5 separate regions of the Homo sapiens genome follow, and all the other regions are linked to region 3. Evidence: promoter capture Hi-C in human tissues and cell types (Jung and others, 2019). All regions are on one chromosome and are shown on one strand. The core of a region is centred on a gene start or on the middle of the fragment in contact, and the rest is flanking DNA. Distances in the headings are between cores, read along the strand shown.

Region 1 (5,609 bases), core at 1,676-4,175, 590 kb after region 3:
CAGGAGCCAAGTCAAACTAAGACTGGGCTTCCTGATAACGTCGGGAAACTGTGAGTTCTGAACAGGCTGGTAACCTGATCAGGTGTGCCTTTGAAAAGGATCAGTTAGGGCCTGTATTTCTAGCACTTTGGGATGTTGAGGCAGGCGAATCACTTGAGCCCAGGAGTTCGAGACCAGCCTGGGCAATATGGTGAAATCCCATCTCTACAGAAAATACAAAAACTAACTGGGTGTGGTGATGTATGCTTGTGGTCTCAGCTACTCTGGGGCTGAGGTGGGAGGATCACATGAGCCTGGGAAGCAGAGGTTGCAGTGAGCTGAGATCATGCCACTGCACTTCTGCCTGGGTGACAGAGTGAGACCCTGTCTCAAAAACAAAAAGAGGGGGATCATCTAGGCCACTGAGTGGACAACGGGGTTGGTCTGTAGGAAGGCAAGGATGTCTAGAAGGAGATCAGTGAGACTTATCCCTGGGAGTAAAGGGCAGTAGGGGAGGGAAGAAGGGAATGGATTTGAGAGACACGAGGAGGATATTTAATGAGAATAACTCGATGTTCATGGTGTAATGGTTTTATCTTTAAGGACAAAACCAACAATTGAATTTAATAACATCTGACATTTTACTTTGTTCTGTTACAGTAAAAGGAAAGTTCTTTCTTTCATTTCTTCCTCCTTAATGTCTCCTAAATCCTCCCTCTCAGCCTGAAACCTCGGACATTTCTTCTTTGGGTAGCTCCATTCTAATCTGACTTGCCATAGCCTCAATTTCAGGTTTTATCACAGGATTTCTGTACTGAAATCCTTCCTATCGACTCCCCAGGCCTTCAAGCTGAAATACCAGCACCTTTCCTGGGCTCTTTCCTGTCCCTCTGCCACTCTTCTCACCTTGCCTCCTGCCACTGTCCCACCCCCACCCCACCGCTGCGTTTTAGCTGCACTAATCTTGGTACTTGAAAGTTCCTACAATGGGTTGCATATGCATGGGCTCTCTTCCTTTGCACATGCTGTTCCCTCACTGGGTGCCTTCCCCCATTTCTTCACCTGGGCAAGTCGTCTTTATCCCAAATCTAAACCCAGCCCCCGGCCTTTTTTATTTTTTATTTTTTTGAGACAGAGTCTTGCTCTGTTGCCCAGGCTGGAGTGTAGTTGTGCGATCTTGGCCCACTGCAACCTCTGCCTCCTGGGTTCAAGCGATTCTCCTGCCTCAGCCTCCCGAGTAGCTGGGATTACAGGCGTGCACCACCACACCCAGATAGTTTTCGTATTTTTAGTAGAGACGGGGTTTCACCATGTTGGCCAGGCTGGTCTGAACTCCTGCCCTCAAGTGATCTGCTCACCTCGGCCTCCCAAAGTGCTGGGATTACAGGTGTGAGCCACCACGCCCGGCATCAGCCCACATTTTCTCAAGCACCTTCCTTGAGCCCGGCCAGTCTGAGTTAGTTACCTACCCACCCTGCTTTTCTACAGCCCTCTACCCCTCCCGCGGATTGTCATTAGTGTTCATCTTGTTTTTCTCCCTCATTAGCCTGAGGGGAGGAGCTCCTTAAGGGCAGCAGCTTTGCTCTCATCTCTGAACCCCAGAAAATAACAGTACCTGGGACAAAGTAGGTGAACAATAAACGTTTGGCTGACTGAATGAATGATGGTATGAATGAATGAATGAATGAGCGAATAAGCAAGAAATGTTTTAAGTTAATTTCTAAGAACTTTGTGTATATAACATTTTAATTTATTTCTGTTTTCTTTCATTTCCTAGCACAGCTGAAGGTTTAACAAGAAAAAATATGTCAGATGTCAGTGGGTGGCAAACATTTTTACAAGCCCTTGACTACTTCCTCAAAATGTTCTTTGGCTCTGCAGCGCTCGGCACTCTCACTGGCTTAATTTCTGCATTAATATCCTTTTAATGTGATGAACATGCAGGGTTAAAATTATTCCTGATAACTTCTGTCTCTAGCCAGTTTCTCCTGTTTTTTAAGGGGGCCAATTTTAGATGAAGATTTTGCTTAAAGGAGGATTTTTTTGCTTAGTTTTTGTTTGAGAAACACTCTAACTCAAGGATTTTTTAATCTAACGTGAAATTTAGGATGTCACTTTTCAAAGTTTAAAAAACATGTACACTGTTGGATATCAGATGTGATTTTGGGGACCTCTCAGTTCCCAGAGTATGATAACCACACTCCGATGATTTTCGTTTTCTGCCATCTTACTTTTCACATTTGGAAAACTGGAAATTAATTTTCTTTGAAAATGTCAAATAGACCAGGTGCAGTGGCTCATGCCTGTAATCCCAGCACTTTGAGAGGCTAAGGCCAGAGGATTGCTTTCGCCCAGGAGTTCAAGACCAGCCTTAGCAATGGAATATAGTGAGACCTCATCTCTAAAAAATACATAAATAAAAATAAAATGCCAAATAGAGAAAATTTTTATCCCACTGAAAGTGTTTATCCAGAAGGATTGCAAAAGGGGCTTTCAAAGTGTGTTCCATTGAGTTATTTGCACTGATTTTGTTGTTTGACAACCAATAAGCTTTTCCAGCTGGAGATGGAAAGAGGCTTGTTAAGGCCAATGTCACCTTTATTGCTGTAGAAATTTCATTATGTTTAAAATAGTAACAGGCAGTAGACCACTTCGGTGCGCACCTAAGCCTACGTCTCAGGGAGATGGCCACCTGGCCCGCCTCCACGAGCAGTTTGTGTCACAGATGGCCGGAAGAGACTCTTTTGCCTGGTTACAGGCATGTTTTTCTGCCATCCTGTTGAATTTTCCCATCAACTCCTTTGTCCAGAAGTCTAAGGGCTCTATTGAGTTGGCTGACAGCTTCTCATATTGTACCAATAAACAGAATGGAAAAGAAAATTTTTTCCAGTTCAGTATTTTCCTCTATATTTATCTTTTTCTTTAAAAAAAAAAAGTATCTATCAAAATGAAGTGGAGCAAATGGGTACTGTGAGCTCCAGTATAGGCATTGTGAATGATGTTTCAATATATAGAAGGCTCTCTCCTTTCACAGGGGCATGAGTTTGGAAATCTCCAGGAATAGGAAATACTGTGCTTCAACAGGGCCTCGAACCTCAGTTTGAACAGCGATTCTCACTAGTTGTCTTTGACTCAAAACTGATGGGGAAAGCAAGATGGGTAGCATTAGTGATCTCATCCGATGTTGTTGGAGGAGTGGGGGTGATGCCGGCCCTGGGAGGAACCTGGCCAAGTGAGCTGTCCTTGGTGTGTCTGCAGCCCCAGCTTTGCGCCATGGCCCGGCACATCCCCAGCCCTCTAAGTCAGCGTTTTTAAATGAGTTGACTTAGGTTGATTTTCATCTTCCACCACCATTTATCTCCGGAATTTACATTTCTTAGTGTTTTGTCAGATTCCCTTTCTTATAGCAACAGTCTCCCTACAAAGGAAAAAATCCATAATGACAAATTTCCATTTGTAACCTTGGGACATTCTAAAATCTATATCTGTTGTTTACTTCATATATTTGGAAAGCAGCAGTTTTGTGACTTCTCCACATCTCCCATCAACTCTCCCTCGATTCTCCTTCCTTGACAGTTGTCATTTACGTGCTGAAGCATATTGACTTGAGGAAAACGCCTTCCTTGGAGTTTGGCATGATGATCATTTTTGCTTATCTGCCTTATGGGCTTGCAGAAGGAATCTCACTCTCAGGTAAGTGACAGAGAGCCTGAAAGTGCTGTGGTGATGGCATCTTGTCCTGCCTGGGGAAAGAGGCTTTGTCAGTTGGGTCACTTTTAGTCACAAGAGACAGTCACAACTCAGAAGAGCTTAAGTAATAAAGGAAATCTATTGGTTCCCTAGAAACACATCTGGATTTAGGCCTGCCTGGATCCAGGGGCTCAAACAGTCACATTGGTGTCACGGTCACATTTTCTCTTAACCCGCCTTCTCTCATTTAGCCCATCAGTCCTGTGAGGCTCCCTCAGAGGAGGGTAGCCTTGTAGGAGGGAGGTACTGTGAAGGTCCCTGTTTTACTGATGAGAAAACTGAGGTTGAGTGAGATTAAGTAAATTACTCAAGGTCACAGCTGGGATTGGTGGAACAACGATTCAAACTAGTTGTCTTGGAGTCAAGAACTAGTGCTTAGAACCCTCTAATACAACTCCCTCCAAAACAGATCATCATGAAACCATGTACTCAGTGCTACATAGAGGGACAAGCAAAGTGTGGTGGTGGCGTAATGTTGGGCGTTTATTGGACACACTTTACCAGTATTCAGTTTTTTTATGCTGATACCAGCCCTGTGAAGTAGGTACTAAGAGGTTGTCATTAGCCCAAAGCTGCACTGCACAAGCAGTGGTGGTAGTGAGATTGACAGTGGAGGCCCAGAGCCTTTTCCCTGCACCCCATTGGAGGAGGGCACACAGCTCTCAGCAGCAGAGACGACTCTGATGCGGCCCTAGAAGATGATGCTCACCAGCTGGAGGAGGGGTGGCCAGTCACAGCGTAATGATCTTGGAGCCGTCACCTGGTAATCACTCAGCAGCCCAATCAGGCTTGGCTTAGTTGGGCTTTCTGCCTACAAGTGGCAGTCAAGCTTGCGTCCACAGCTTGTTACGTTGTAAGGATGTTGACCTGAAAATGGAGCGTGACTCACCCCTGTTCCTGTGTGAGGGGGCAGCCAGTTGGGAAGGGCTCTGCCCTGGAAGTCTGATCCCATCCTTTGAGTGAAGGCCCTTCAGAGGCCTTGTTCTGGAAAGGAGGCACTATTGCAGGGATGTTTTGATCTGTGCCACAAGATGGCAGAGATTTTCTTTTTTATTAACTTCGTTGAGGTATAATTTACACACAATACATGGACCCGTTCTAAGTATATAGTTCCATGAATTTTTGCAAATGTGGACAGTCATAACTACCCCCACAGTCGAGGTGTGGCATATTCTTATCGCCCAGTGTGGCTCCCCTGTGCCCTTCTGCAGTCAGTCCACCTGCCTGTCCTGAGCCCTGGCACCCACTGATCCTGCACTGTCATTGTAGTTTAAATGAAATCATGTGGTACGTAGTCTTTTGTGTCTCCTCTCTTTCAGTTACGTTTTTGAGAGACATCCGTGTTTTTGCGTGTGGCAGTAGTTTATCGTTCTTATTGCACCACAGTTTGTCTGTTCATCATTTGAAGGGCATTTGGGGTTTTCCAGATTTGGGCTAAGAACAGTGTGCATGTGTTTTCATTTATCTTGGGTAAATACCTAGGATTAAGGCTGCTAGGTCATATGGTAAGTACATTTTTACTTTTTTAGAAACTGCCTAGTGTTTTTCGAAGTGACTGTATCATTTTACATTCCTCAGAATGTATGAGAGAGTGCCAGTTGCTTCATATTGCCACCACACTTATTTTAATTTAAAAAAGTTTAGCTGTCCTGATAGGTGTGTAGCAACTGCATTTAGATGTGCTTTGGTGTGGTTATTTTTATATTCGCCTTGGGTTCATTGAGTTTTTTGGGTTTATAGTTTATATGAGTTTATAGCTTTCATCAAATTTGGTAAGCTTTTGCCCATTTCTTTATCAATATTTTTTTGTTCCGCCTTCCTCTTCCCCTTGAGACTTCAGTTTACTCCAGTTATGAGAGGTAGCATGCTATTGGCCCACA
Region 2 (5,817 bases), core at 971-3,470, 600 kb after region 3:
CCATCTCTCAGTCAGCAAGAGCTCATTGCTCTTGGTCACTGTTATTTGTCCTCCAAACTCAGGTTTCAGGGCAAGAGAGAAGCAGCAAAAGTCCTTTACAGAAAGTATAATAGCCTAGGCTGGGCGCGGTGGCTCACACCTGTAATCTCAGCACTTTGGGAGGCCGAGGCTGGCGGATCATGAGGTCAGGAGTTTGAGACCAGCCTGGCAAACATGGTGAAACCCCATCTCTACTAAAAATACAAAATTAGCCGGGCGTGGTGATATGCGCCTGTAATTCCAGCTACTCAGGAGGCTGAGGCAGGAGAATCGCTTGAACCCGGGAGGCGGAGGTTGCAGTGCAGTGAGCTGAGATCATGCCATTTGCACCCCAGCCTGGGCAAAAAGAGCGAAAGTCCATCTCAAAAAAAAAAAGTATAATAGCCTTTAGTGTGGCCACTGGGGAAAAGGGACACATTTGATCAAACCTGAAACAAGTGTAGGCATGGAAGATTGGATTTCAGTGGGTGAAACAGGGAGGTGACTATTTCAGCCACAGGTTGGGAGGAAAATGAAAGGATGCCCTGGGGTGACAACTCAGTTTTCTCTAAGCAGTTAGGCCCAGGCTGGCCCTGCAGCTAGTGGAGATGGCCTATTCAGGTGGGTTACAGTTCCTGCCCTGTAAACTCAATTTAGTGGTCAAGAGCATGGGCTTTGGGGTCTGAACCAGATTTGAGACTTGGATCCATTACTTCCTGCCTTGTCAACTTGGACCAATTACTTCATCTCTCTATACCTCAGTTTCCTTGTCTATAAACTGGAGACAACAATACCTACTTTGTAAGACCTTTGCAAGGATTTAAATTTAGCAGGATAATGCATGTAAAATGATTAGCATGTTGTCTGGCATAGAAATGTTTGATGATTGGAAACATTTACTCTTGGCCAGGCATGGTGGCTCACGCCTATAATCCCAGCACTTTGGGAGGCTGAGGCGGGTGGATCACTTGAGGTCAGCAGTTTGAGACCAGCCTGGCCAACTTGGCGAAACCCCGTCTCTACTAAAAATACAAAAATTAGCCGGGCATGGTAGCACACGCCTGTAATCCCAGCTACTAGGGAGGCTGAGGCAGGACAATTGCTTGAACCCGGGAGGCAGAGGTTGCAGTGAGCCAAGATCACGCCACAGCACTCCATCTCAAAAAAAAAAAAAACTCTCAAATTCATGCTTGTTAAAGGAATAAACTTAAAGCCTAAAGAATGTACTGTACATGTCTATATCATCCTTTTCAAGTAGTTATGGTGAGAACCAAGATGAAGAAAATGAAAGTAAAGTAATAAATGTCCTAAGAATCCACTTAGATAAGATTTAAACTTTAGGCTGGGTGCAGTGGCTCACACCTGTAATCCTAGCACTTTGGGAGGCAAAGGCAGGAGGATTGCTTGAGACCAGGAGTTTGAGACCAGCCTGGGCAACATAGCAAGACCTCATCTTTAACTAAAAAATTTTAAAAAGTAGCCAGGCATGGTGGTGCATACCTGTAGTTCTAGCTACTTGGGAGGTTAAGGTGGGAGGATCACTGGAGCCCAGGAGGTTGAGGTTGCATTGAGCCACAATCACACCACTGCACTCCAGCATGCGAGACAGAGTGAGACTTTGTCTCAAAAAAAAAAAAAAAAGATGTAAACTTTACATAAAGCTGTACTTTGCCAAGACTAACATGCCTTTGGAGATGGAGAGGAACCAAAAGCCACAGCAAGCAGCTGGCAGGCTAAGCCGGGGCATGTGGCCTCCTGATAGTCCCTACCTCTGCGTTCCTCTTGCTCAGAGAGCAGTGTTTCCATGCATGGGAGGTCCTTCATAGCTGCCCTCCTTTCCCTGAGGGAGAGGCAGAAACACCTTGTCTGTCCCCCTAGTCCTGGTATGATCAATGCAGCCCTGTCCCAAGGAGGGGCACCTTGGGAGTCAGGTTGCCCTTAAACTAATCTGTGAATACTTCTGTACAGCCTCTTGGCATTCAGTTTTGTTCTGCTGTCATTACTAAAGCCCTTCCTGATACCTCGTCCGTCCTCTCTTTTCTGGCTACTAAGAAAGGTAACGTACAAAGCTTTATCCTTTCCTAGATGCATAGAATCCCGCAGCTGTGGCAGCACGCCCATGCTGGGTCTCTGACGAGCATGGTGTTGCTCGTGTCTTTTGTGGCTGAGGGGAATACTGCATTTGTACTGGATGTGTTACACAGTCTGCATTAGCTTCATCCAAGAAGCTTCAGCTTGAAGAGCCAGATGTTTTCACCTAAGACTTAGTTTGTTGCTATCAACAGGTGCTTGTACTATTTGGCAGAGCGGTAAACATTTTCCCTCTTTCCTACCTCCTGAATTTCTTCCGGGATCATAAAATCACACCGAAGATGATGTTCATCATGTGGTTTAGTGGTAAGTCAAATCTTGGATAAATGGGGTGGGGAAGTACCTGTTAAAAGCACGCCCCATACAGGGAGAGCTGTGGTTCTCTGCTAGCGCCCTTGGCAAAACCACAAGTAATCAATACTCCCGTTTAATGGCACCCACTGCAATCAAGATGGTGCCCCTCACCATGGTGCTATGAAGTGGGTGAGGCTTGGTTGGAAGAGGGCAAACAACATGCCCAGGGTCACGTGACCACTGGAGGCAGAGCCGGGATTTCTGCCACTCTCTTCTGAACACCATAGTGCAGTCCGGGATGCAGCTGGGCGTGCTTCAGCGCCTCCCTGGGGGTCTTCTAGGCTGAAGTAATAATGGTCTCAAGGTAGAAAAGGTGAAAGTTGAAACTGTTTCATACCTTATGTTAGTTTTGGATATTTTTCCTTTTAGTCACAAAGTTCTAGTAGTTTAATTTGAATGTTTCAGTTGCTATTTAATCACTTTTTAAAGGACGGAAATGATTTCATACATCTTTGCTTCTAAAGAACTGGATCCATAGGCATCCTTAAATTTATTTTTGAGCAATACATACTGTTCTTTATGCTTTCTTGCTTAAATATTATAATCAAAGTATTTTCCGTGTGGGTTGGGTTATAGCAACACACTATAATGTTCTCTATCCAAAGGCATATCTGCAAGTTTGTCTCAGATTTCTCTTCTTTCAAAAGGCCATGTTTAAAAATGTATATGTTTCATATATATGTACGTATGTGTATATATACATATACATTTATATGTGGTGAGAAAAACTCATTTTTTTCCTAATCTCTTTTGCCAGTGAGGCAAACTACTTTGTAAATGGTTGCAGAAGTGTGTCAGAGGTTTTTGAAGTGATGTGGGCTATTTGGGAAGGGGGGCATGAGGATAAGAGAGCGTTATGGGGAAGGTTGGAGTGTATTTGAAATGGCGGGGGCTGTCGGCTCCTGTTCTCTCCCAGGCTCCCCGGGCTCTTGCTCTGTGGGTTTCCATCCAGGCTTTCCTGGATCCTCAACGAGGGGCACTGAACAAGCCTCTGCTACCGGCCCCTCCCATCATCATTTAAGCAATCAGAGCTTCTCCTCCTTCCCACAAAACACCAGCAACTTCAGCCAGAGTTCCTCCTCATGTCCCCCGCAGCTGTGTCCGCACCTCTTTTGCCATGGCCAGACCCTTGCGAGTGAGCCGTGCTCGCTCATTTTCTCCACTTCTTCACCGCCTGTCCACGGGGCTGGAATTGGCCTTGGCAGGTCACCAGTGACCTCCCGCAGCCAGACCTGGAGGGGAGGCGTCCGCCCCCGTCCTAGCCTACCTCCTTCCCACTGCCCCTACCTTCTGGCGAGGACCACTTCACTCTCTTCCCCGGCCTCTGGGCCATGCTCCTCCTTTCTCTCCTTTGACGTCTCCTTGGGCTCGTCCCCCTTCGCTGACCCCTCAAATAGTGGCTTCTTCAGGACTTGGCCCCAGCCCCACTTCTGTTCACGTGTTCTGCACTTCACTGAGTGCGCTCACCCGTCCACTGGCCTTCACTTCCACCTAGTCCCAAAGCTGTTCCCGCGAACCCAGACCTCCCTCTGGGATCCGTACTCCTGTTTCCAGCTGCCTGTTTGGATGCCGTGGGGATGCTGTCATCCCTATGCCTTTGCATCCCCCTTGCCCAAGAAATCCTACTTTGAATTGCCCGGTGGCCTGGCTAGCCGGTACTAAGCACTTGCTGGGTACACACCCTGTTAAAGCACATTACATGTCCCGTGTCACTGAATCCTCTGGCCCGTGACAGGTTTAGAGAGGCTGAGAGTCCCTTGTCCTCACCATGTCTCTGTATTATGTGCCCTTTGCTCTTGCCCTGCCGTCTCCCCATCTGGGTCTGGCCTGCAGCAGCCTGGCTGCCCTACCCCATGGTGATGTGAGCCTCCCCGCTTTCCTGTCTGGGGAAGGTCCTGGTGCTGTCTGCACCATGCCCCCCCCCACCCCCCACCCCCCTCCCCCCACCATCTCTTCCAGGTAGCATTTCACACCCCTTATTTGCTGTGCCTCCTCCCAGCTGCTCTAGGAGCTCCCCAAGGGTGGGGCTAGGACTGCCTGTCCCCTCCGTATGGCACCAAGGAAGCCAGGAAACTTCTAACAGAGGAATGTGCTGTTTTCCAGCTCAGTCCATGCCCCTCAGTTGTGCCCTAGTAGCGTCACAGAGGACCAGCCAGCCTGTCATTACCACCTAAGCAGCCCACAGCCCCATCAGTGCCACCAGGGGCCTCCACAGGGACAGCATCTCGAGATAGGAGGGGTACTGGACACATTGCATCTTGTGCTGTTGTGGGTATTAGTTGAGTGGCCCTGGGCGGGCCATGCTGCTCTTGGCCTCCATCCCTCATCTGTGTGTTGTGGACAAGAGTAGCGCTGCTCGGTGAGGATTCCTGTGAAGATCCAGTGATGCTCTGCACACTGAGCACCTGCCCAGGCCTGGCGCACACACAGGGAGGGCTCAGCCCACAGCAGCTGTCCTGCAGTTTCCAAGACACGAGCATCAGGCTTGCTAAGTCCTCCCGCACCCGCATCTGGGGCTCTGTAGCTGGGGCAGGCCATCTCATTTGATCTGCCAATGTTGGAATGGAGGTGAGTCTGTGGTCCCATCTCTGCCACCTGCTCTTTACACCCCAAAGCCTCACAGGGTGAGCACACACTCTTCAGCAGGGCCATTAGAATAGTCAGCTGGTCGTGGTGCTGGGCCGGCTGGATTTCCAGGGAAGCCAGCCCATGAAGCTGCTGCCTCTTCACTGTGTCCTCTCACACTGTTTGCTGTCACCCAGGCCTGCGGGGAGCCATCCCCTATGCCCTGAGCCTACACCTGGACCTGGAGCCCATGGAGAAGCGGCAGCTCATCGGCACCACCACCATCGTCATCGTGCTCTTCACCATCCTGCTGCTGGGCGGCAGCACCATGCCCCTCATTCGCCTCATGGACATCGAGGACGCCAAGGCACACCGCAGGAACAAGAAGGACGTCAACCTCAGCAAGACTGAGAAGATGGTTAGTACCATGCGCCTGTGGGGGTGGGGCAGGGGGCTGGCCTGCTACGCAGCTGGTGGTCCCCACTGTCAGGAAATGGGGAGATGAGCCTTGCTTTCTTGCTTTGAGGATGCCCAGCACCTCCACACACACGACACACACACACACACACACACACACACACACACACACACACGACACACACACACACACGACACACACACACACGACACACACACACACGACACACACACACACACACACACACACACACACACACACACACACACACCCCCCGGTCATCCCCCCTGAGAAGGAGGTGACGGAACTTGAGTTCTGAAGCATGGCTCTTGGGGTGGGGGTGTCTGGTGGCCTTGTGACCTGCCGCAGCC
Region 3 (6,190 bases), core at 1,380-3,879:
CACCCCTTCCTGAGGTTCAAGGGATCCTCCCACTTCAGCCTCCCAAGTAGCCTAAGTAGCTGGGACTACAGGCACGCAGCACCAAGCCCGGCTAATTTATATATTTTTTTGTAGAGAAAGCCTATTGCCATGTTGCCCAGGCTGGTCTCAATCCCCTGGGCGTAAACAATCCTCCCGCCTCAGGCTCCCAAAATGCTAGGATTATAGGCTTGAGCCACTGCATCCAGCCATAGTCATTCTTTACTTGAGAGATGCAGACAATCTTAGGTAGGCCTGCTCATTTATAGAGAGCCCTATTTCCTTCTTTTATTACTAGAATTTCCTTCTCATTAGGTAGGAAACCTTGCTTACCTCTGTGGTTGGTATGGGAATTCCTGGGCCTGGCATCCAGATGAGGTCTTCTCTCCTCCATGTCTGAGTCACCTGAATTCCTTCACGTTACTTTCTGTTATCTGGAAAACTGCACATGTTGAGTTATCAGTGTCCTCGAAACATAGCATCTAGCAGCAAAAACCCAAACACCATCAAGCCAGTCCTTCTGCCTTTGTTAACATTTTAATGATTTGTTAACTAAGGGTTAAATACAGATTTTAATCTAGAGCACAAGTGCTCGACTCTGCAAATGCCCAATTATGATATAAAATATTAAATTCACAATTTAGCTGATTTCAAGAGATAGAATTCCCCTTTCTTTTACCCTGGCACTTTCTTGGGGTAGAGGGAATGTCATCAATTCCCATTCAAAACTGCTGTTTGGTTTATGCCTTTAGCCAAGTTACTTAATCAGTTGCTAGGTTTCATTTTCCTTTCCTAAGAAGCAGACAATATTGTTGCCAGGACAAAAAGGAGTACATTTTTGTTAATCCAAAACCATGTGCTCACCACCTTATCTGGCATTTACATATCTGCCACTTATATAGTACCCAATAGCTTGCAGTACCCTACAGTTTATAAATAATTAGTGAGCAGTTATCCCCTTAGCCTACTCTTTGGAATGGAGCCAAATGATTAAGCTCTCTGCTCTACTGAATCAAGAGAAAGAAATTACATGTTTCAATAACCAGGAGGTTTGGCAACTACGAGGTGCTGTTTCCTCAGGACCAGCTAGAAATCTGATATTCTTTCTTCCTCCTCATTCTTCTACCTTGGTGATTTTTGACACTGGTCCTGTAAGAGGAAGAGGAAGCCCCTTTAAGGGAGCTTCTCAACCCAACTCATACACATGGTGTGGGCTGGGGCTAAGGAAAGAGTGGGTGACTCAGAGTCCTCAGCAAAGGGATTTTTGAGACTGTCTTCACTGAGTTCTAAAATATTCATAATTGGAAACTGTGACTACATTTGGCATTATATGAGGGGCAGCTTTTTTCCTCATCTGAAAAAGGAGTCTCTTTTCTTCCCCCTGGGAATATCTCTGGTGAGTCCCCTCCCTCATCTTATCAAACCCAGCCCTCCTGGCGCAGGCTCAGTATTTAGAGTTTGTTTGTTTATTTTCAATTCTCCGAGGGGAAAATTCCTTCTTCCCCTTGTTGAAAAATGCTAAAATAGAAACTCCAGAAAATTTAAAAGAAACGGAAGAAAAGAAAAAAAGATGTTAAAAAAAAGGCAAGGGAAGGAAGGGAGGAGTAGACATGAACAGGAAATGCTGGGATCGAAAACAGACTGAAGTGTTTTTTTTTGGTGGGGGGAATCAAGGCCTAAAGGGCACGAAGAAGAAAATCAGTGATGATCAAGCTGGCCTGGAGTCAGAATGAGAGGGGCTAGTCATCACCAGAGTGGGACGCAGGAGGCTGAGGTCGGAGGCAGAGCTGGGTTTGGGGGAAGTCTCCAGGGTCCTGGGGAATCCCTGACCCAGGGAGCCCACGGTCCCTAATGGAAATGTTATGGGGTCAGGGAGCGCCAAGGCTGTGAGGTGGCGGGGTTATGGGGGCCTTGGGGAGAGGGTGGTAGCGAGCACCAGGGGGTGCTTGCTGAGGACGGAGGCGGCGGGGTGGGGGCAGGGAGCAGGCTGAAGGGGGTGCCGAGGTGCTCTGTAGAAGAGGGGGATTGATAAGGTGACAGGAGGTGAGGCCGGAGGAATGAGGGGGGTGCGAGTGGCAGAAGGGAGGGCACAGACAGGGGTAGGGGCAGAGGAGATCGAAGTGCTGAGGGCAGAAGCGGTGACGGTGTCGGGGGTGCTGGGGAGAGCGACGGGCCAGCTGAGGGGATGGGGACACTAAAGAGAGTACAGGGGAGCCGAAGGGGCGACGGGGCGCTGAGATGGGCCAGGGGCTGAGTGGGTGACGGGGCGCTGAGTAGGCGATGGAGGTCTGGGGTCTGAGGGGGAGACGGGGCGCTGAGAGGCGCTCTGAGTGGGTGCTGATGCCGCTGGGGGCCAAAGAGGTGACAAGGCTCTGAGTGGGTGATGGGGGTCTGGGGATTGAGGGGGCGACGGGGCGCTGAGGGGCCAGGGGCTCTGAGCGGGTGACGGGTGCGTTGGGGGCTTGAGAGGGTGACAGGTCTTACGGGCAGAGGCAGTGGCGGGTCGGCGCGGGCGCCGGGGTTCGCGGCGAGGCAAGGAAGAATCAGGGGCAGGGGCAGTTGCGGGGCCACTCACCCGGCTCCGGCGCGTCCTTTCACTGCCGCCGGCGAGTGCTGGGGCTTCGGCCCAGGCAGGTCGGTGGCCCCGCCCGGCGCCGCGCACTTTCGGTTTCCGTTCCCCGCAGACCCTGGGCGGAGCCGGGCGGGCGGCCCAGAGGAGGAGAAGGAGGAGGCGGGGGCCCAGGGTGGAGAGCACGAGGGCCTGGCCCAGGCACGGCCGGCGCCTCCGCCCTCGAGGAGGGCGTCACCTCAGCTCCCCCCGGCGGCGGAGCCGGCGGGCTCAGGCGGGCGCGGCTGAGGGGAGCGGACCGCGGGGGGCGGGAGATGACTGCGCCCAAGGCCTTTGCGGGCCTCAGCCGGCCCCAGAGGAAGGGGAACCCGTCGAGCGGTTTGGTGCGTGTGAAGCGCGACATGGCGAGGAAGCGGACAAGCCCGGGTGGCCCGGCGTGTAGAGGGAAGGGGGCGGGGCTAGACGCGGCCTGGACAACTACTAGAGCGCCTCGGGCTGTGCTGCTCGAGACTACATTTCCCAGAGCGACGCGCGCGGAGCGGGCGGGAAAGAGAGCGTTTCGGGTCCAGTGCGCAGGTGCGAAAGCCATCTTTGGTTATATAAGGGAGGTTCAGGAAGCCATTCGTTCTTTCGCGTCTGCGGTGCCCGGAGTGTGGTACTTCTCCTAGTTGCAGTCAGGCTTCATACGCTATTGTCCTGCCCGTAAGTTCCCGTTTTGTGTGTGGTGAGTGGAAACTCCATGTTCTTCGTTGGAGACCTCTGGTCCTCCCTTCCCTTCTTTGTGCCGTCGTCTCTGCGGCCAGCCCTAATCTCCTTCTCGTGGCTTCTCCGTCTCTGACCCCAAATAGGCCTTAAGGGCGTGGGAGAAATGAGTTTCTGGAGCTGGAAAAGCCACTGCCTTCTGCACGGGCCTGAGAAGCCCTTGGCTGGTGTAAATGATGACTTCACTTTTTTCCCCATCAGATCGACAATGCTGACGTCTTATATTTTGCCAGTTAGTTCTGATACATCGGCCTCAAAAGGCCCGGCCTTGTTCGTTTCTGACCGTGGGAAGATGGCGGTTAACGCCCTTTATTTGTTGGTTCACAGGTTAGAGCAGCCAGCGGGTACAGAATGGATTTTGGAAGAGGGAGTCACCACTGGACCTCCAAGGAAGCCACGTGCAGACATCTACAACCTTCGATCTCCTGACGAGTAAGTCTTTGTCTCCTATGGGTCTACTGTAGAAAACACGTGCTTTGAGAAGCTTTAGTTTTCTAGGAAAACGTGGGATTTAACAAAGCACTTTCTATCGAGCATTTATTAGGTATTTAAAAAAGTGTTCTGACGGCCGGGCGCTGTGGCTGACGCCTGTAACCCCAGCACTTGGGGAGGCCAAGGCAGATGGGTCACCTGAGGTCAAGATTTGGAGACCAGCCTGGCCAACATGGTGAAACCCTGACTCTATTAAAAATACAGAAATTAGCTGGGCGTGGTGGTACGCGCCTGTAATCCCAGCAACTCACAAGGCTGAGGCAGGAGAATTGCCCGAACCCGGGCGGCGGAGGTTGTAGTGAGTTGAGATTGCGCCACTGCCCTACAGTCGGGGCAACAGAGCCAGACTCCGTCTCAAAAAAAAAAAAAAAAGAAAAACATGTTCTGAATGTTTTATTCTCACAGTTCAAATATTGGAACTAGGTTTCTGGTGAAGAAACAGGTTTAAGAGAAATGCCTGAAGTGAAAGAACCTTGTTAGTGAAGAGGCGTTTAACATTTTAATGCCACTTAAACATATTTTTGGATTCCATTCTTCCTGTGTGTTGGGGCGCTTAAATTTCCAAGTGGAGGGATGATTTATTGACATATTTTGGAAAGCCAAATGTGTTTTTCTGTTGAACTAGCCACTCAAACCAGTGCCCGACTACATAACTAATATTTTTGCTAGAGTCCAGGAGTGAGGCGTTTACAAAGTCTGGGCTTCATGGGAACACATGTGAAGCTTATTGTTCCAGATTGTTCTTTTGTCAGGTAACTTGTGGTAACTTGTGTTAAAATGCAATCTCTTGGTACTTGTTCACTTCCCAACTCAGTAAATGCCAACTACTTCCTCAACTCTTCCAGCCACACTGGCTTCTATCATGGGCCTGTACTCAGAGTGTAAGCACTGAAGACAGGGGTGTTTGGTTTGGCTACCAAGTTATTGCCAGCTACAGGATACAACACAGAAGTGCTCAAACACCGAATGCAAATTTGCAAATATGAAGCATACCAACCAAATCTTACTCCTCATGGCTTTCAAATCTTACTCCTCACTCAAGAACTTCCTGCTGGCATATATGATGACTTAGCTTTTTTCCCCGACAGATCGACTATGTTGATCTAACTTTTCTAAGCCAGTTTCTGTCTGATATGCCAGCTTGAGCAGCTCCTTTGTCCCAGCTCCCCTGGGCATCTAGCTGATGGGAGCTCATTTTTCTGTTTTTTCATTTCAGGTTTATTGTTGGCCAAAACCAGGCTTTGATTGAACCAGGATGAATGCGGGTGTTGGAAGTAGAATATATATATACATATAAAATTGGTAAGTGGTGCCAACACGTCTTCCCTGGCTGAGTAGACACAGGCTCTGGAGGGGGTAGTAGCTGCTTTTCAGTGTGGGTTTGTCACCCTACTTCTTGTACGACTCAAATGTGGCCTTTGCAGCTGATGATACAGCTTCTTTCCCCATCAGATCGACCCTGTTGATCTCTACACTATTGGCCAGTTTTGTCTGATGCATTGGCCCCAGTAATAACTCCTATCTTTGTTTTCTGCTTATCTTTATCAGAGACTATTGCTTGTTCATGGGAACTGGGCTTTCTCTATTTTTTCCAGCATTCAGATGGCTTCTTTTGACCTGTTAACTTTCTATAGGTTGGGAGCCACGTGTACCAGTGTGTGTTGATCTTGGCTTGATTCAGTCTGCCTTGTAACAGGTGAGGTTTCTGCTTTCTATCTGCCAAACCCCACCGCAAAATTTGTCCAACTGGGCCTAACCTCAGGACCCATTTCCAAGTTGGGTATAAAACTGGGAGAATAAGTCATTAGGACTGACATTGGCCTGTTGGTATTACTAGGTCTTTGTTGGAAATAAGAGCTTGGAGTTCCAAAGAAAACGAGCACTTGAACAAAAGATTTCTCAGCAAGGCAAATTTACTTCTGCCGTAGGGTGCTGCTGCTGGCATTCCTGGCAAGAGCACACCTAACAAAAGAGAGAAAGGGTTTTTATTCCTAACAAGTAGTCCCTGCTTCTGTGTCCTATCCCCATTGGCTGGAGTCGACAGCGCAATCTAAACTAGTCCTGATTGGCTATTTTAAACAGGAGGCATGTGGGTTACAGCTGTGGGAAGGGCAGGAAACTTGTTTACAGAGCTGGTTGCTAGGAGTGAGGGGGACTTTTCCAAATAGGGAACAGGTTACAGGTTGAGATTGGCCGGAGAAGTTGTTTATAGAACGGGTAACTCGGAGCAGGAAGGTATGAGGAAGTTGACCTTAAGAACAAAGAACAAGGAAGTTAAAACTTTGAAGAGAAATCCATTGTATCTAACGATTTCCCCCTTTTGATTTTTATAATTATTTCTCTTCAGAC
Region 4 (5,475 bases), core at 813-3,312, 570 kb after region 3:
GTGATTCTTCTGCCTCAGCCTCCTGAGTAGCTGGGATTACAGGCACACGCCACCTTGCCCGGCTAATTTTTGTCGTTTTAGTAGAGACGGACGGGGTTTTACCATGTTGGCCAGGCTGGTCTCGAACTCCTGACCTCAAGTGATCCACCCACCTTGGCTTCCCAAAGTGCTGGGGTTACAGGCATGAGCCACCACACTCGTCCCCTAGTGTGAGTCTTTCTGCCTGAGCAGGAGCTTCTCACTTTTAAGCCTGCTTGTGTGCGTGCATGGTTTTTTCCTTGTCTGTGAGTTTTCTTTAAACATAAATGTATTTAAGTTTTAAAATAAAGTGATTCAACTTAAAATACTAGTATTAATAATACAGCAGCTATTTTGTGAATGTGATTTTTAAAAAAACTGTGAAGATTGGAAAGTTTAGGCCAGTCCTTGGAGAGAGGAAAGCCAGAGACACAACACAGATCTAATCATGCGCTGCCCCCTACAGGTTTCTTTTTGGTAAAGTAGAAACCAAAAACCCCAAAACCCTACCTCCCAGGGTGCTTTGAGAGTCACACTAGATGAAAGAACGTAGGCAAAGCACCACCCACCACACTAAATAAATGAAGTGCTGCTGCTTGTTATTAATGATAAAAATGTCATTTATTATTAATAACAATATTACCACCAGTAGTAATAATAATTTATTAAGCTTAATATGGTCGGGCCCAGTGGCTCATGCCTATAATCCCAGCACTTTGAGAGGCCGAGGTGGGTGGATCACTTGAGGCCAGGAGTTCAAGACCAGTCTGGCCAACATGGTGAAACCCCATCTCTACTAAACATACAAAAATTAGCTGGTCGTGGTGGTGCGTGCCTGTAATCCCAGCTACTCTGGAGGCTGAAGCATGAGAATCATGAGAATAGCTTGAACTCGGGAGGTGGAGCTTGCAGTGAGCTGAGATCACGCCACTGCACTCCAGCCTGAGTGATAGAGGGAGACTTTGTCTCAAAAATAAATAAATAAAAATAAACTTAATTTGTTGTTGACATGGTATAAAATAAATAAATACATAATTTTAAAAAATGAGTTAGATTTGTCTAGAAATGTTTGGTAAAAACATAGAAATTAAGTCTTTAATTTTCCTGTACTAAAACAAAAGCATATTAAGATGTTCAGCCCAGATTTTTTTTTAAGTTATTATTTTATTGTGCATCTATCCAAAGAAAAAGTGAAAAGGAAATTTAATGTAAAAAATATTCACAAGTCTTACAAACTGTTAGTGACATCAGATAATTTTTAACAAGGAAACATAAGTTGAAGGTCACCATGTCTTTCCTTTCACTTTGTAAACAAATCTTAACTGTAAGCAGATATGAAAATATTTCAAAACATGCTGAGGAAATTGACTTGATTTTGACTTAAAAACATGACATTTTGAATATTAGAGCATGTAAAGTTTTTCTTTTCTTTTTTTTTTTTTTTTTTAGAGGGGAGAGAAACTTGTTCAAAATTTGAGGAAAGTAATAGTTTTTTAGAGAAACATTTTGTTGAAGATGACTTTCCAGCAGGAAATGTGACAATTTATATGAAAGGGACTGATAGGATTATGAAATGCTACTTCTGAAACTTCTATCCACTTTCTACCCTCGCCCAAAGATGATAGGAAGTAAAGTTTGAATATTTTATTTTAATATTATGATATCTGCTAATGTAAATTTGGATTTAGAATACAGATTACAGTAAGATTATCATCAGTTGATATGCATTAGCTAGGCAGCAACTGGTTCTTTGAATTGCAAATATTACACAAATCACAGGATGTTAATTATGTCAGAGAGAAACAGATAAATTTGCTTTATGTAGCAGAGGGAAGTTCTTGTATTATGGTAACTTTAACTTGGGTAAATGTTCAGGATCCAGATTAATATTAACCAAATATATAAATTATATCAACATTAGATCTCTGCAAACAGGTCAAAACTGATTAATCTGTTTTTTTTTTTTTTTTTTTGAGATGGAGTTTTGCTCTTGTTGCCCAGGCTGGAGTGCAATGGCACGAACTCGGCTCACTGCGAACTCGGCTCACTGCAACCTCGGCCCCCTGGGTTCAAGCGATTCTCCTGCCTCAGCCTCCCGAGTAGCTGGGATTACAGGCGTCTATAACCACACCAGCTAATTTTGTATTTTTAGCAGAGATGGGGTTTCTCCATGTTGGTCAGGTTGGTCTCGAACTCCTGACCTTAGATGATCCACCCGCCTTGGCCTCCCAAAGTGCTGGGATTACAGGTTTGAGCCACCGAGCCCAGTCTAATCTGTTTTTAAATAACAAAAGAAAACAGCGATTTGCAAAGAGCAACTCATAGATTGAAAGCCCTTTGTTTTGAAAAACCAAATCATTGTGTTTTAAAATTCTTTGTGCAGTAAAGATTGATATGCCAAACAAAGGAATTGAATGTCAGATGATAGGCAGCCAAGTCAAAATTGCAGCTTCTAGGAGGTGGGCTTAGTGGGGCAGTCAGTGTTCAGCTGAGGACACTCTTTCACAAGTGGGCTTTAAAATAGCAGGTCTTGATGTCCATGGTTTGGTGATTTCTGAGCTAAAAACAAGATTCTTGTTCACAACCACAATCGGGGGTGATCAAAGACTCTTGGTAGCTCCTAAGTGGAGTTCATAGGGTTATAATAAATAGCTTAATTTCCTTAATTTTATGGAAATTTGAAAGATGCTACCATGCTGCTTGAACTTGAATATTTTATCTTAAACGCTGTGAAGTATAGATAGAAACATTTTATCTGACATAGTTAATGATGATACTAATAGAGTGAAGTAAAATTGTTTAAAAGACCTGGCCAGGAAAAAGGAATATCTGATAGTGTATCTTGGTATCCTAATAGTGTGGACTTTGGATGTGAAACACAGTTAATTCCTTCAGTGCCTGTCTGTTGGGCATCTTCCATCTGACGGGCATTATGTCAGGGACCGTGTTGTGCGAAAGCAGGTGGGGTCATTGCCCAGAATGAGCCTGCAGCCTCATGGGAAAGTAAGACATCAGTACATAAATAAGTGCAAAATTGCAGTCTTGTCAACCGCTACAAGAGAGGGTGACTGTGCACTGAGAGCACAGACTAGGATCTGGGAAGAGTTGAAATGTCCTGAGATCTTGGGATGATGAAAGCTTAACAAGCAAAGAGGGAGCACAACCTGCTCGAAGCCACCAGTGGGACTGGAACCCAGAGAACAAAGGCGAGCATGGTGCCAGATGAGCCCAGAGGCCTCCCCAGGAGTCGAATCATTCAGGGTGGGGGCTAGCTGCATTTTAAGTGGAAATAGGGGTCCAGGTGAAGGCAGCACAATCAGATTTGTCTTTTGGGAAGATCATTCTGGAAAGACGGGAGAGTGGAGGGAAAGGGGCCCTGGGGGGTTGAGGAGACTTGTGCGAAGCTATGCAGTGTTTCAGATGAAAGATGGTGTGAGTGACGGGACACTGCAGTAAGTGCGGGGGTGCAGGAAGACTCCCGGGCTCCCAGCTTGCCACACAGGTTGGGCAGTGGTGCCTTTTACAGAGAATCAAGTCTGCACGGAGGGCCAGGTGTGCAGGCCGTGCCTTCACTGACAGGAATGGCTTTTCTAATCATTTCCCTGATTTCTGCTCTTTCAAACAGGGTAACTTCTTTCAAAATATTGGTTCCATCACCCTGTTTGCTGTTTTTGGGACGGCAATCTCCGCTTTTGTAGTAGGTGGAGGAATTTATTTTCTGGGTCAGGTAAGAAAATCATCTTTGAAACACTTTGAAAGTCTTACATTCTTAGAGCTAGTGCAGGGAGGTGGGAAGGTGAAATGGGGCCACTTTGTGGGGCCTGGGTTTCACCCTTAAGGTAAATTCCTTCTGGAAGGAAATCCTAGCTTCATATGAGGCACAGTAGAGGCGTGCTAAATTGTTTCAAAGTGTCCTCCAAGACCTTTGGTATCTGGAATTGAGTAAAACTTTTCCATAATCCCCCCCAAAGTATTTGAGTTTATTTGCAAACCAATACTGTCTTAAATTAGAATACCTAAAAATGAAGCCAAATATATGCCATCAAGAACTTCAAACTGTGTTGTCAAGTAGACTGAATTGGGGTTGAATGCTGTTTTTTGATAAAAATTTGTATTTAAAAAATCAAAGATGTGCTTTTCTGCTGGCATTGGAGAAATAATAAAATCAAAGGTGATGCTGAATCTCTTCACTCAATTCTAAGCTGTCTACCTGTAGAATTATATACTCTGGATTTTCCACAATTGCTAAACCACTTCCCAGTGGCACCAGTTGGGTGGTCTCTACTTTAGACTTCAAATTAATTTAGACCAAACATCCCTAGGAAGGTAGTATCTGTAGTTTTGTATTATGCATGTCCATGCATGTCACATTCTTTTCCTTTATTGTCAGTTGCAGAAAGTTTGCCTGTCTCAGTTCTGAAAATTAAGTTGAGGGTCAGGTATCTGAGTGACGGGCAGATTTCTTTAACACATCAGCTGCTTTCTTCTCTCAATAGCCAAAGCCCATTCCATTGGATTTTCACCTATATTGCAGCTTTGATGGCACCAGAATAAATCTGTCTGTCATGCAGCTTTCTTCATTGCTCAGCTTCTAGTATTAAGTAAGAATAAACTTAAGGAAACTACAGTTAATTGGGCTTGAAGAATGTAGCATTCTTTTCCATACTCTCGTTGCATGCCGATGGAATGCATGTTTCAACTAAGGCTTAGGAGCTTTTATTTTTCAAGTGGTTTGGGAACTGAAGATTAATGTCCTTATTAGTTTTAATAAAGCACTAATGGACATTTAAATCTTGGCTGTTCTCCAGGGTTTTTTTTTTGTGTGTGTCTGTGTGTTTGTGTGTTTTATTTTACAGGCTGATGTAATCTCTAAACTCAACATGACAGACAGGTAAATCCTTCATACTGTAACACCCATGCGACTGCTTTTCAGACAGGGGAAATGTTTCTCCACATTGCTTCCTGGGTGTGGTACTGTTCTATTCTCTCTCTGTGTATTTATTTTTGGTAAGGATTTCTGCCATAGAATCTTACTCTGAGTTAATTTGTATCTCTGAAATGAATCAAAAGTATCCTAAAGACTTTTGAAGATCCCTAGTGGGGCATTGCTGATTGGAATGATTTAGTTTAAGCTTGGGAGGGAGTAACTCTGCTCAGCTAACTGCCCTGCCTGTGTGCACGCGTACACTGTACCATTGTCTTCTTATTTACAAGACTTTTCAGTCGCCGTAACAAAAAGTCTTCTTGACAGATTAGAGATGGAGAGGGGGAGTGACGGAGAAACTTTCCTCTGGGATTCCCACGAAGCCTGTGGTGGGGGAAGCAGGGCCAAGACCTCTATTGTGGTTATTGTAGAAAGCCCCTCCATCTGAAGCCACTCCCGTGAGCACTTCCCATGAGCCCCATCCAGGATTTCCCAGAATTGCATAGTGAGAAGCAACCTCACTAGGTTGAGGC
Region 5 (5,491 bases), core at 760-3,259, 670 kb after region 3:
ACACAGGCCACAGAGGGCTGGTGCAAGCTTGGAAATTGGGTGCCTAAGACCTTGCTTTTGTGTTGAAAGGTTTGTCCGATATGTGCCTCGATGCCCTGGGGAGACCCCAACTACCGCAGCGCCAACTTCAGAGAGCACATCCAGCGCCGGCACCGGTTTTCTTATGACACTTTTGTGGTAAGTCTGGAGCCTGGGCTCTGATCCCTCCCCTGGGGGAGTGGCACGGCTACTTCACTCTTCTCAAAAGGGGAAATGGGGATCCCCAGTGTTGAACTTTGTCGCTGTTGTGATGGGCTTCCAGTCTGTATACTGGATACAGTGATAAAGGGGATTGACAAGAGAGAAAAGAAGACTGAGTGGAAGAGGCGGGCAGGCAGCTGTAGCTGGGGAGCTAGATGGGCTTCCAGTCTGTATACTGTAGCTACTATACAGTTTCTATTCATGGGCCAGGCAGGTGGCCAGAGTGACATTTATTTACTTACATGAGATGGAGTCTTGCTCTGTCGCCCAGGCTGGAATGCAGTGGCGTGATCTCAGCTCACTGCAGCCTCCACCTCCCGGGTTCAAGTGATTCTCCTGCCTCAGCCTCCTGAGTAGCTGGGACTACAGGCGCATGCCACCATGCCCCATTACTTTTTGTACTTTCAGTAGAGACAGGCTTTCACTATGTTGGCCAGGCTGGTCTCGAACTCCTGACCTCGTGATCTGCCCACCTTGGCCTCCCAAAGTGTTGGGATTACAGGCGTGAGCCACCACGCCCGGCCCAGAGTGACATTTAAGAAGATGATCTGGGCTGGGCGCAGTGGCTCACACCTGTAATCCCAGCACTTTGGGAGGCCGAGGTGGGCGGATCCTGAGGTCGGGGGTTCGAGACCAGCCTAGCCAACATAGTGAAATCCCGTCTTTACTAAAAATACAAAAAAATTAGCCAGGTGTGGTGGTGGGCACCTGTAATCCTAGCTACTTGGGAGGCTGAGGCAGGAGAATCGCTTGAACCTGGGAGGCAAGGTTGCAGTGAGCCAATATCGTGCCACTGCACTCCAGCCTGGGCAACAGAGCAAGACTGTCTCAAAACAAACAAGAAGATGATCTGGTCAGTCTTTGAGACAGAGACAGTGATACTTGCTCTTTCCATCTCCTAGCCCTGCCACCAAATTTTTGTCTACTTTTCTTGTGGTTTATATAATTTCTGCCTGTTATAGAACTTGGTTTGGGGACAGGTGCGGTGCAGTGGTTCATACCTACAATCCTAGCATTTTTGGGAGGCTGAGGCAGGTGGATCGCTTGAGCTCAGGAGTTCGAGACCAGCCTGGGCAACATGGGAAAACCTTGTCTCTGCAAAAAATACAAAAAGTAACCAGGTGTGGTGGCTCCTACCTGTAGTCCTAGCTACTTTGAGGGAGCTGGGACAGGAGGATCTCTTGAGCCCAAGAGACGGAGGTTGCAGCAAGCTGAGATCATGCCACTGCACTCCAGCCTGGGCAACAGAATGAGACCCTGTCTCAAAAAAAAAAAAAAAAAACAAAACACACACACACAACAACAATTTGGACTTGGGAGGCTCAATCTCGCATGTCCATGGGGACCATAATTGAAATGATCCTCCTGAGGATTTCCAAGCCAGGTGGTGCCTGACTCGTTATGCTGCCATCACCTTGTTTTCCTATGGAAATGCAGGCGCAGCATTGCCTAGCTTCTCCACCCCCCATGCCCAAGCAGGACAGGAAAATTTCACAGGAGGTTTCACAGGTTTTAATTATCTTCAAAAATACTTCAGGTCAAATAGCATATATCCACTAGCCAAATACGGCTGTCAGGTTTATATTCTTTCCCTAGAGCTGGATGGTTTCAAAGGGGCACACTGTTGTCTTGCCATTATAGTAGTAGGTAACTTTGGCCAACTATATCAAGTAAACCTCTTACTTACATATATAGATGTCAAGTTAGGATTTTAGAGTGGTATTCGGTCTTGATGGCTGAATTTCAGTATCTAAGAAAGAAAGCTCTCTGCTAAATTGTCATAAAGAATATTTTTTCTCAGTCTGACAGTGTCTGAAACTCAGACTTCAGAATAACTGCCCTTTTTGTTAATGTGACACAGATGAATTACATTCATCTGTGTCACATTAACAAAAATGACTCATTAAAAATGAGTCCTAAAAATGACTCATTAAAGAGGGCTAGTTGCGCTATAGTTTCTGCTGTATTGTATGGCTCTAAAAATCTGATTCTGTACTGTGCACTGATTCCACCTCTCAGAAACAACTCTTCAGCTCAGTGCATCTGCGTGCTCTGTTCCGACAGACTTACAAATGTTCTGAGCACTTGGTCTGTGCCAGCCTCCATTCGTGTGCTGTCTGGGTTTCTCAATCTCCATTTAAGGGAGGCATCCTTAACTTCATTTAAGAATCAGGCAGCAGACTGGGTGCAGTGGCTCATGCCTGTAATCTCAGCACTTTGGGAGGCCAAGGCGGGTGGATCACGAGGTCAAGAGATTGAGACCATCCTGGCCAACATGGTGAAACCCTGTCTCTACTAAAAACATAAAAATTAGCTGGGCATGGTGGCGCACGCCTGTTAGTCCCAGCTACTCGGGAGGCTGAGGCAGGAGAATCACTTGAACCTGGGAGGCAGAGGTTGCAGTGAGCCAAGACTGTGCCACTGCACTCCAGCCTGGCAACAGAGCGAGACTCCATCAAATAAAAAAAAAGAGAAGGCAGCAGAGACAGATTAATTTTCCCAAAGTTACATACCTAGCATCACAAACAGTTGCACTGGGGATCCGGTCCCTGGCAACCTGCTCCGGATCCAGTTGCTAGGCTGTCCTGCTTCTACTGAAAGCCAGTCTTTGCATCTAGAAACAGTTGCTGAGGCTGCATGTCTCTTTTTGCCCTTAGGATTATGATGTTGATGAAGAGGACATGATGAATCAGGTGTTGCAGCGCTCCATCATCGACCAGTGAGCAGAGTCCGTGCTTGCTATCTGTCTCATGTTACAGAGCTTCCATTACATATTAAACGTGAAATCTATGACTCCTGTACCTTACCTGTTCAACAGACCTGAAAATGAGCCATGGCATTGGGACAGGGTCACTTCTGACAGGGGAAGTGGGTCCCCAGGTCAGCCCTTCTCTTCCCTTTGGGCTCTTGCCAAAGCTGTCTTCCCCTACTGTTAACCTTGTTTGTCACACGGTCGAGTTCGTATTGGTTCTCGGCTACTTCCTGGAGCTTCTGCCGCCTCCTGTGGAAGATAATCTAGCTTCTCCACCTCTTGTTTCACACTCATTCCTCCCATCCAGTGTTTGTCTCTCGGGTCCTTCAAGCCAGCCAGGACCTTTTCTGGGTCATGAATAGCACAATGAAGCAAGTGTCTCCTTTCCTTGTCCCCAAGGTGTGCAGACTTTGGCAGCCGTGCACCTGACCAGAGCTGAAGCTCCCGCTGGGCTGTGGGGTTGCCAGAAGCTGGGGTTGCCATCCCGGGGTACATGTCACCAGTCCTCTTGGGGTTTTGTACCATCTGATGCTGGAAGTTTTGATTAGTGATATTTTCTACTACTACATATTTAGAGTTCACTGGTTCAGTCTTAAATGCCTGCATGGTGCCTTTTTAGGATAAGGTATAACCATACATTTTTGGTGGAAGTGTTTCTGGGTTAGGGAAGTTAAAGTCTGTTTATCCGTAAGTGGGGAGGAGGGTCAGCTAAGAGAAGTGGGAGGGCCAGAGCTTTTTGGTTCTGATTTACAAATTAATGAAGTAGTTTCAAACAACGCGGTCATGTTTACCTCTCCATTTGGGAGCCTGCCTACATTCTTGTTCTAGAAGCACAAAAAATCCTCAGATGAATTAGAAGAAAGAGGTTTGGGGACTCAGCGGATACTAGTTCTTTTACCTTCTGCTTGGTAACTTAGATTAAACTGAGCATTGTTTTTCTGTCACAAATGTTTTCCTTATGACACTGGTTTCGACATGTAAAATGTGTTTGAAAACCTGCTTTGTAGATGCAGAGAGAAGCTATAGGAAACCCAGTACCACCCCTGGTCTGTTCTGACGAGACATCGTTCATAAGGCACAGCACATCGCAAGATGAACAGTTGTTAATAAAAGCTGTTGCTGGAAACTTGCTTTAGGAACAGCTCAAGAACCTTGGAGTTCATATTTCACAAATATTAATAAATATAAGTCCAAGAGCTGTCAGCCTAATCTGTAGGAGCAGAACCTCTGATTGACCAAAAGGCATATGGGTTTAGGTTGGTTTTTTGATGTCATATGTCTCTGATGGGGCTGCAAGTGCTACCTCGCGCTTGTACACTGCTGCTGTGGGGCTCCGCGCCTGCCGGTGAAGAGCTGCAGATGCCGAGAAGCCAGCAAACACAGGGCCCACTGGAAAAAAATAGTTTTTTCATTAGTATTTCTCGGGAGGACCCAAAAGTTAAGGTCAGCTTGTTCACTGTAATTTCTGGAAGAAGTTCACTCAGACCTTCCTGAATTCAGATCATCTCAGAAGTCTGGAGGGAAATCTGGCGAAACCTTCGTTTGAGGGACTGATGTGAGTGTATGTCCACCTCACTGGTGGCACCGAGAAACTTACTTCCTTGTATTAAGTGCACTTCTTGTATTTCTAATAAGATGACTTTCCAGAAAGTGAGATTTGTTATGTTCTGGCTTTTAAAAGGTAAAATATAAATAAATTTCATAACTTAATCTAAGTGGTAAGCTATGGTTCTTGTTTTCATTCAACACATTTGCCATAGCATGGGCTTGGGGAGTCTCCAGAAGATGGTTACCCTTTCTAGAAGGGAAGTTCTTGCTTGTTGCTGAGTCCTGTTTGGCGTCAAATCTCAGCTGATGCCACCAGCTGGGCCTCATGGTGCCTGTCCTCTGGAAAAAGAACACTTGTTACAGTTGGGAGGCTCTGGGAGGTGAGAAGTGGCAGCGCTCCATATAGCAAGGCTTTAGACATGCGGCTTCTGCTACGTGCGGGTAACAGCAGCAGTGCTGAGGGCTTGTAGTAAAGGGGCTCCGCAGGGTCAAGTTTCAGGTCCTGGATGTGTTTAAGTTCATACTCTGCTGTTAGCTGTGGGGCATCTAGCGAATATTTTCTGAACCTGTCTCCTATGAAGTGGGGATAATTTTATCTGCCTCTTAAGGATGCTAGGATCCAAGGAGCAAAGTACACAGAGCTCTCCCTGCACAGCGCTGCATCGTGGGTGCTCACTGTAGTGTTTGGCTGCTTGAGCTTCATTCCAATCCCATAGAAACGTTATTTTTTAATTTTTTTTAGTAAGAGATAGGGTCTCACTATGTTGCCCAGGCTGGGCTTGAACCCCTGGGCTCAGGTGGTCCACCTTGGCCTTCCAAAGTGCTGGGATTACAGGTGTCAGTCCGAGCCTGGCCTGGAACCTATTTGTTTTGTTTTGCTTTTTTGAGTCAGGGTTCCGCTCTTTTTGCCCAGGCTGGAGTGCAGTGGCGCAATCTCGGCTCACTGCAACC

The links. Contacts are between HindIII fragments. The study calls those that stand out against the background at their distance.
Region 1: a contact is called between a fragment that was not itself captured here and the fragment with the promoter of ZNFX1 in region 3, in 1 of the 25 tissues and cell types used here (dorsolateral prefrontal cortex).
Region 2: a fragment that was not itself captured here is called in contact with the fragment with the promoter of ZNFX1 in region 3 in 1 of the 25 tissues and cell types used here (aorta).
Region 4: a fragment that was not itself captured here is called in contact with the fragment with the promoter of ZNFX1 in region 3 in 1 of the 25 tissues and cell types used here (small bowel).
Region 5: a fragment that was not itself captured here is called in contact with the fragment with the promoter of ZNFX1 in region 3 in 1 of the 25 tissues and cell types used here (dorsolateral prefrontal cortex).

Annotation. Positions count from the first base shown.
Region 1 is chr20:49,861,173-49,866,781 of GRCh38, forward strand. SLC9A8 (solute carrier family 9 member A8) reads left to right here. Exons shown (of 16, transcript NM_015266.3): 9 at 1,757-1,895; 10 at 3,567-3,672. MIR12122 (microRNA 12122) reads left to right here and starts at 2,687; the gene lies at 2,687-2,781. The HindIII fragment of the contact is 4,214 bases long and covers 819-5,032 here.
Region 2 is chr20:49,878,621-49,884,437 of GRCh38, forward strand. SLC9A8 (solute carrier family 9 member A8) reads left to right here. Exons shown (of 16, transcript NM_015266.3): 13 at 2,304-2,415; 14 at 5,226-5,446. Among named protein-coding and RNA genes, the nearest start is that of MIR12122, 18 kb to the left of the region's middle. The HindIII fragment of the contact is 5,664 bases long and covers 1-5,052 here.
Region 3 is chr20:49,275,428-49,281,617 of GRCh38, forward strand. It overlaps ZNFX1 (zinc finger NFX1-type containing 1), which reads right to left and starts at 2,630. Exons shown (of 14, transcript NM_021035.3): 1 at 2,594-2,630; 2 at 352-460. The coding sequence starts at 412. ZFAS1 (ZNFX1 antisense RNA 1) reads left to right here and starts at 2,751. Exons shown (of 4, transcript NR_036658.2): 1 at 2,751-3,289; 2 at 3,677-3,781; 3 at 5,058-5,143. SNORD12C (small nucleolar RNA, C/D box 12C) reads left to right here and starts at 3,518; the gene lies at 3,518-3,596. It overlaps SNORD12B (small nucleolar RNA, C/D box 12B), which reads left to right and starts at 4,886; the gene lies at 4,886-4,988. It also overlaps SNORD12. RefSeq lists enhancers at 1,805-1,864, 2,206-2,706, 2,707-3,207, 2,965-3,259, 3,135-3,334 and silencers at 2,405-2,634, 2,685-3,044. The HindIII fragment of the contact is 7,798 bases long and covers 1-4,198 here.
Region 4 is chr20:49,845,936-49,851,410 of GRCh38, forward strand. SLC9A8 (solute carrier family 9 member A8) reads left to right here. Exons shown (of 16, transcript NM_015266.3): 6 at 3,644-3,745; 7 at 4,875-4,909. Among named protein-coding and RNA genes, the nearest start is that of MIR12122, 15 kb to the right of the region's middle. The HindIII fragment of the contact is 4,181 bases long and covers 1-4,153 here.
Region 5 is chr20:49,949,179-49,954,669 of GRCh38, forward strand. RNF114 (ring finger protein 114) reads left to right here. Exons shown (of 6, transcript NM_018683.4): 5 at 70-177; 6 at 2,898-4,707. The coding sequence ends at 2,963. Among named protein-coding and RNA genes, the nearest start is that of RNF114, 16 kb to the left of the region's middle. The HindIII fragment of the contact is 6,868 bases long and covers 1-5,443 here.